Linked DNA regions of Homo sapiens: regions 2 and 3 are each linked to region 1. Evidence: promoter capture Hi-C in 16 types of primary human blood cells and fetal thymus (Javierre and others, 2016). All regions are on one chromosome and are shown on one strand. The core of a region is centred on a gene start or on the middle of the fragment in contact, and the rest is flanking DNA. Distances in the headings are between cores, read along the strand shown.

Region 1 (2,575 bases), core at 54-2,553:
AAATACTGCAAATAGCAAATAAGTACTGATTTAGACCTTCAGATAGTGTTGAAACTGTCTTCAATTTTCGAAGTGTGGTTTAGGATATACAAATTAGCAATGTTGACAATTCTTCCAGTTATCTGTGCTCAAGTTTTGATATAAAATCTTCAAAGTACACAATTATCACATATATTGTTCCACAACAATTCAGACAAATAAACGGCTTCTTGGCTTGAAAGAGGAAGTCACACCTTCGAACACCTTTTTATGCTGATGCTAAATATAAGAACGTCCCCTGCAAAGTAGCCAAAGCAAGACAGCAGCATTCGAGATTTCTCCAGAGACACACACACAAAGAATGTGTTTCGTTCATTAAAACACTAAAACCTTCAACAGCATCTTCCATAATACCTGAAGGTGGAGTGCTGTCTTATGTAATAGAAGCCTTCCTTCCCCGCTCAGTTTGTGGACACATTAAATGCCTAATTCCTTCCAGAATTTCTGAGTACCGTACTTTCATTTTACCTGCAGTCACTCATCCGCCTCGCAACTCCCGTTTCTACAGATGATGAAAATAGCAAAGACCTGCTCGCTCGGGTTAAATCGGCTGCCAGAGGCCAAGTTAAAGGCTTTCCCCACACCGCGCGTCACCTCCCTCTGCCCAGGCAGAGGTAACAAGTAAGAGTGCGCCAGTCTCTCCCCATCCGGCGGCGCGCAGCCTAAGTCCGGGGTAGGGGTTGCCGGCGAGCAGCTGGAAACCTCAGGTTCAGGGTCAGGGCCGGCTCGGATGGCCGGGCAGGAGCCACGCCGGCCCCGGTGCTCCCAGCTGCGGGTATCACTGGACGCCACCCCGGGGCGGCCCCGCCTTGCCCTGCCCGGGTCCCGCTCGGGGCTCCCGGCGGGCGGGACCGGGATGCCCGGCGAGCACCCAGCCCCGGCCAAGGCGGCCCGCGGGAGGCTGAGAAAGTTCTCTGCTCCCCGACGTCGGCGCCCCAGGGTCCCGCTGGCCCCGCAGCTTCCCGGCCGGGCGCAAGGTCAGGGAGCAGGGCCGGTGGCGCGCGGAGCCCCGGGGAGCGTCCCCCGCCGAGGGCAGCGCCGGCCGCGCCCGGGACTCACCGCGCAGCCTGTACTCACCGCGCTCGCTGGATCCCCAGGGGGCGGCCGCGGAGGGCGGTGCGGCCGCAACCGGAGCGGGAGCCTGGTCTCGGCGGCGCGGGGAGTCGGAGGACGCAGCCAAGCGGCGGCGGCGAGGAGGGTCACAGCCGGAAAGAGGCAGCGGTGGCGCCTGCAGACGCCGCGCAGCCCGGGCAGCCCCACAGCGCAAGCTGGCTGCCGCGGCGGCGGGGGCTTTATCGGCGGCGCCGCGCGGGCCCCCGCCCCTTCCTGCCGCCCCCGCCCCCGGCCCGCCTTGCCCCGCCTTCCCGCCGCCTCCTTTGTGTGGCCGCGGGCCGCAGCGTCCCCGCGCCCGGCCTCCAGGACGCCCCCTCTCCGCCTGCGACTTCTCGGATGCCGCCCCGCCAGGGGTCCGTGTCGTGGGGCTGCGCCCGGAACGCGCCGGGGAGACGCGCAGACCCCGAGGTGCGGCGCCAGCCCGGGCCCAGCTGCACGTGGGTCTCCCGGATGGGGGTGTGTGAGGTGGCGGGGGGAATACCAGGGCTCGTACCGCGTCCCTGAGACGCAGGGCATGTCGTCTTGGCTGCCCCCTGGAAGAGACAGAGGGCGCCCTGAGACAGCGCTCAGTCCTCCGGGTGATGGGGAAACGGTGCCAGGACGCGGCCGGGAAGGGGCAGATAACCCCTCGAGGCGTTTTGCAGGGTGTCCTAGAGCTGACTTCTCCCTGCCTAGGGGACAGAGGAACGGCGGCAAGTCGCCTTAGGCAAATACAGACGAGGGGAACCAGAAAACTGGATTCCCGGCTATGGTGATAGCATGAGGTACCCGCAGCGTCCTGGGAACCCAGCCCTTCTCAGCCGGTAACCACTGCTGCTGGGACCCGGTGCGCGATAGACAGGCACATACCCCAGGGGCCTGCAACAAATGACCGTCCCGCTCCGGGCTCTGTTACCTGGACCTCTCTTAGTTGGTTCCTCCTTTGCCTCTAGTTAGGTTTCTGGGGACCCAAGGACCCAACTTTAATGACAGTAATTTATGTAGCCGTTAGTGTAGAATCGTCGCTAGCAGGCAGACGGCCCCAACAGCGAGGAAGAAATGTAAATCTCCCTATACACAGCCCTGGATTAAGGGTACAGCTACTGATGAGAGCCACTTGGAAGATCAGCCTGCAGTCACCCCTTGGCATGCAGGTGGCCGTGCCAGAGTGTGCACGTGTGTGTTGGGGAAGGGGTTGCTCTGAAAAGTGTAAAATCTGGACCAGCCTAAGGGTGTTCTCAGTCTCTCATAGAGGGAAACAGGCTATGGGAGGCTTGGTCCTAAAATAAGGAGCAAACAGTCTACAAAAATGAGCATCTGTTTAATTATTTTACAGTCATACCAAATATTTATATTCAGTTACAGGGTAACTTTCTTATTCTCTGTGCCTGAAATGCTTTTTGTCCCAGGATCTTCTATGTTGTCTGCATCCTTACACTTGAGG
Region 2 (2,575 bases), core at 27-2,526, 250 kb after region 1:
CAGATATTTAAAACTACCATCCCTCCAGGAAATCATATTTCCTTAAAAATAATACCAGAAGCTTCCAAAATACAGCAAGCACAGGTTATTTGAAACAACTTCCAAGAAGGATAACAGATTCACGCTTCATGTGTACTCTATAGCTACAGTTCACACAGTAGGTATAACACAATTATAAAAAGTGACCCAGATCTTGTCTCTAATCTTGTCAGAAGACACGAAATGACACCACTTCTGCTCTGAAAGCCCAACTCTCTGGTCTAAATCAATTAACCACAATTGTCAAAGACCATCATAAAGTCTTTGATTTTCTCTTAGCCGGCCAATGGGGAATTTGTACTAGAGCAAATACTATTATCCCACCTATATAAATACTACAGAGCAAACAGAACAGTCTATCACAGAGCTTTCTTTAAAAAATCACCTGTCTCTCTAAAACAGACCCAGCTAGATTCTGGGATATGTTTTCTTGCCTTGCTATTATAAGGTAGGGCATAGTTTCAAGATCTATTACAAAGACTAATAATATTTTGTTTCTAAAATTGACTATGCTACATTTAACCAATATATCTGCTGCAGAGCTTTAAATGCTACTATACAGCCGTTGTCTCTTCAATATGTCAACAACTCATCCCACAGCACTATGAAAGATTGATCCTGGATCACTAGATTATGTTCAGTGAGCACTATTCTAATGCTAATTAACAAAACTTGGCAATGCTGAAAATCTGGATATCATAGGTCAATGTGTTATACTGTGACTTCATCTGTCCTTGGCCAAAAGAGGAATGGAGAAATTAAAAACAAACAAAAACAAAACAAAACAAAACAAAACAAAACAAAAAACTGCCTCTGACATTTAGAAGCTGGCCTGGCACTTACAACTATTCCATGTTTTCTCCTGGGTAAATAATCTCCTAAATAATCTCACAGAAATTCAATCTCAGACAAGGTTACCCTGAAACCATGATAAAAAGGGACCAAGAAAGGCCACTTCATAATTTCTTAATTTTGTCTAACCACAGAGAAAAACAAGGTCATCATGTCACCTACAAAATACCAAGCCTACTCCCTTTGAATCAAAATGAATAACTGCTGTTTCTCCCCACCATGTGGATAAGGTTTACTGAGATACCCAAGTCTCCCCACTTCCTTAGACTCCCCCCAAATTACTCCATCAAGGTGCAAATTCCATTGTAGATTCTAACACCTTTTTACTGAGATGCCCCATTACCCCTATGATGTATGTTCCCTTGGCTGCAATGAGTAATAAATTTTATTTATTTAACTACAGGTATATTCCTGGTAGTCTTTTGCTGAAGTACATTCACATAGGTAATGTCAAATTTGTTTTGCCAAACAAATTGATTTTTCTAAAACAAAACTGTTTGTTTCATGACCAGCATAACTCATAGAAAACCCTATCGCGATTTCAAAGCTAGATCAATGAATAAAGACTTGTAAATAGATCAGTGGTGGGGTGGTGAGCCACAGGACAATTTTGAAGGCTCCATGCTCGTGGCTAAGTCAAATTTACAGACACATCATTTAACAGTCAGTGGTAAGAAATTTCATTCTTTATTGACTCCTCTCAAAAAAGATTAAAGCGATTCGAGCCTAACCTAAATTAAAAACTTCTCAAAAGCCTCTGCTTCCATTCCCCTGCGCTCCTGCTTGGAAATCTTGTATAAGACAAATCCTAGACTCTCTTCTACAACCCAAACACGAGGGCTTCTTCTCCTTCTGCTCCCAGCCTTTTATTATGTAAATCAGCTTAGCCTCTTCCGCATTGGTCTCAAAAGGGTCAGGAAAAAGGAGCCAGGCCAATGAAGAATTTCCATTAGCATTCGGGGGAAAAGGGGGATGTGCAGAACATTCAGAAGTTAATCCTCTTTTCCCCCTCCCTAAACAACTGATTGAAGGATAATGAAATCAAGAAATTAAGTCTGGCAAGAGTTTTCAACCTCATGAAGATGATCTGTATGGCAAACTGCTTTAATTTCACTCAACATAAGTTATCCCATATTTGAAAATTATTTTGTTTCCTTAGAGAGATTAAGAAAACCCAGATTTAAAACTATTTATAGGATATCAATTATTGTTAACACCCACACACAAACCTAAGTTTCAAATGAAGAAATGTAGCCATGATGACATTACTAGAATGTCACCTCCCCATCAAAAGTTAAATGACTTAGAATCCAAAATCACATTTGTGGAGTCACAGCTAGAAAGAGGTTGGTGGAATTTTAAGTAATTATTGGACTGTCATGATAAACAGTACCAAGAATTATGACTCATATAATAAAGGTATCACTTCACTGACACTAATCACATTCTCAGGGTTGTAAAAAGCAATCCTTACTTCTTACTTAAATGGGAATAAAAGACTTTGACATTACATTGGATTTTTCATAACCTTCAGGGGTACTTTTTAAACTTCATTTGATTTGCTTGACTTTATGGAATGAACAGTTTATAAACAAGAAAACAAGCTTTTCGATACACCATCTGCAGTGGAACCACCATCAAAATGCAGATTTTTACAAAAACTCTTACAGAGAAGACCATCACC
Region 3 (2,575 bases), core at 48-2,547, 240 kb after region 1:
TCATATATTAAAAAATAGCTAAAGAAATGTAGATGTCTTCATGAATGCACAATTTCAAAAAGTATTTCAGCGATGGGTACCATGGGGGAACTAACAGTACGGGGTCAGTTTGGATGGGAGGATGGTATTCTGCTCAAAGGTTGATGCATTAGTTCTGAGGGCTGAAAATTACTTCTCTAGTCTTAGTCATGTAAGCTTGAGCCATCAATATTTTAAATCCAAAAGATGATGGGATTGTAACTAGAGGATCTCTAAAAGCCCTTGCACTAATGAAATTCTATGACATGTCTCCAGTCTGATTTGTCAAAACTTAATTTTGACATATTAAAATATCATTCAGACACTAACAGCTCACTTTCCCAAGTTCATATTTCACTAAGCCCTTTATATTGCTTATTCTCCACTTGTAGCATTGTAACCTATCTACAGAACTTAATTCTTAAAGAAAGATAGAAGCTGAAGTCCATGTTTCGCATTGCGGAATGTAGAACATGGGCACAGTGTGATGCTTTAAAAAATCAAACCACACTCCCAAAGCTCCTAACAGAAGTGTATCTGGATTGATAAATTAAATGAATGAGGTATGATATAACATAATCTGTCTAGTTTCAAAGCACACATAACAAGTGGGTATGGTCTTTTCAAAGAAGCATCCTTGAGAGATGGCTCCCTCATCCCAGAAGTGTGCCTCAGCCATATACAAGTTATTTTTGGAAACTGCTTTTTTGAATTGCCATTAGAGACATTGCTCACTGCCCTTAATAGTGATAAAATTTTTCCTTTGTATGATTTTTTTAAAACAAAGAAAAGTCACTTAGCTCCAAGTCAGATGAGTTAAAGTGGGCAACTGAGCCGTAGAATTCCACTTTGATCCAAAACGTGAAACGGTGAGCTTTGTTCTCCAGTGTGCAAACTGACTCTAGGGCAGTTCCAAATAAGATCTAAGGAAAGTAAATGTTTTGAATAATGACAATATTATAAGAATAAGTATGTCACCTGCTAGGATGATTACTCAAGTACACACTCTAGGCTGACTGACACATAGATAATACTTTTTTCATTTTCTTTTTTCTTCTTCAACTTTTGTTTTAAATTCCAGGGTACATGTGCAGGATCTGCAGGTTTGCTCCACAGGTAAACATGTGCCATGGTGGTTTGCTGCACAGATCAACTCATCACCTAGGTATTAAGCCCAGCATCTATTAGCTATTCTTCCTGATGCTCCCCCTCCCCCCACATCCCCACAACAGGCCCCAGTGTGTGTTGATCCCCCGATGTGTCCACGTGTAGATAATTTTTTAACACCTACAATACCAAATTAAATATATGTGGAATTAAAACTGGGGGCCCCTCTGCTATGGTTTGAATGTATGCATCCTTCCAAAATTCATATGTTGGAAGCTAACCCTCAAGGTGATGGGATTACCTTTGGGAGGTAATTAAGCCATGAGGGTTCACCCTCATGAATGAGATTAATACTCTTACCAAAAGGGCTTGAGGGAGTGAGGTTGTCCCTTCTCCATCCCTTCTGCCATGTGAGGATGCAGCAACAAGGAGCCATTGTGGAAGCAGAGAGGAAGCCCTCACCAGACACCCAAGTCCACTGTCACCTGGATCTTGGACTTCCCAGCCTCCAGAACTGTGAGAAACAAGTTTCTATTGTTTGTAAGCTACCTCAGTTATTTTGTTAAGGCAGCAAAAACAGACTAAGACCTTCTCCATGACTATAATTCTCTGTGAAATTCATCATTTCAAAATGTTTTAAAGCCTCCATCATGAGCCATACCCTGCGTATAACAGGCACACAAAGAATAAAGACAATTACTACTAATAAAGCAAGACAGAAGCAAATAAAAAGTGGAGCCAGTCCTTGAGTTTAAATTGTTATTGTAGGGCCTCAAAAAGAAATGCTTTGGTAATAGACAGTGACAGCAGGCTGAAAATTCCAGAGTATGGTGACAGGGCTTTTAAGAAATAAAACTTAATTTCTGAACAATGTTTTGAAAAATTAATGGAATCTATCTAAATATATTAGTTCCATGATTAAGAGACAAGAAAAGTTTTCTAAATTATATTTGGAGTAACATCTTGAATAATTTGCCACTTATTAATACCTCTAAAGCCAAAATAAAAGCTCTATAGACATTTAAGAAATTTAGATGTTTATCTTTCTACATGTTTACTGCCACTAATTATAACTCTTTACACTTAAATTAATGTTCAAATCTCTCACAATCTATTTTTACCCTTGGGAGAAAAACTACTTTGTTAACCTAAGTTATTATAAACATTCAAAGGAACTGTTAGTTGTCAATTTTTTAAAATACGATAAAAATAATCTATTTTAGTATCCTAGCTTTCCCAACTTGAGAAATACTCAAAAATACACAAGGTGAACAAAAAGCTTCCTGAATGATTTTAGATGCTTAAAAGCTTAGGGAAATAAAACTGCTAATATACATTACAAGTTTTTCTTTTTTGAATCTTTGTGTGTACTGAGGCGAATTAGAGAAAAATATTTTAAAAGCAGGAGAAGACAAAAGAGAACAGTACAGGTGATTACATTTTACCTTTA

Evidence for each region. Contacts are between HindIII fragments. The CHiCAGO score rates a contact against its expected background, and 5 or more counts as called.
Region 2: a fragment that was not itself captured here is called in contact with the fragment with the promoter of SERPINE2 in region 1 in 4 of 17 cell types (megakaryocytes, naive B cells, endothelial precursors and 1 more); the score reaches 6.5 in megakaryocytes.
Region 3: a fragment that was not itself captured here is called in contact with the fragment with the promoter of SERPINE2 in region 1 in 2 of 17 cell types (endothelial precursors and total CD4 T cells); the score reaches 5.4 in endothelial precursors.

The regions. Positions count from the first base shown.
Region 1 is chr2:224,037,983-224,040,557 of GRCh38, forward strand. It overlaps SERPINE2 (serpin family E member 2), which reads right to left and starts at 1,304. Exons shown (of 9, transcript NM_001136528.2): 1 at 1,117-1,304. LOC124907991 (a long non-coding RNA gene) reads left to right here and starts at 1,420. Exons shown (of 2, transcript XR_007088103.1): 1 at 1,420-1,560. RefSeq lists a silencer at 1,470-1,764. The HindIII fragment of the contact is 11,785 bases long and covers 1-2,575 here.
Region 2 is chr2:224,292,397-224,294,971 of GRCh38, forward strand. It overlaps the pseudogene LOC100289117. Among named protein-coding and RNA genes, the nearest start is that of FAM124B, 110 kb to the right of the region's middle. The HindIII fragment of the contact is 2,434 bases long and covers 60-2,493 here.
Region 3 is chr2:224,274,872-224,277,446 of GRCh38, forward strand. No RefSeq gene overlaps it. Among named protein-coding and RNA genes, the nearest start is that of FAM124B, 130 kb to the right of the region's middle. The HindIII fragment of the contact is 2,209 bases long and covers 194-2,402 here.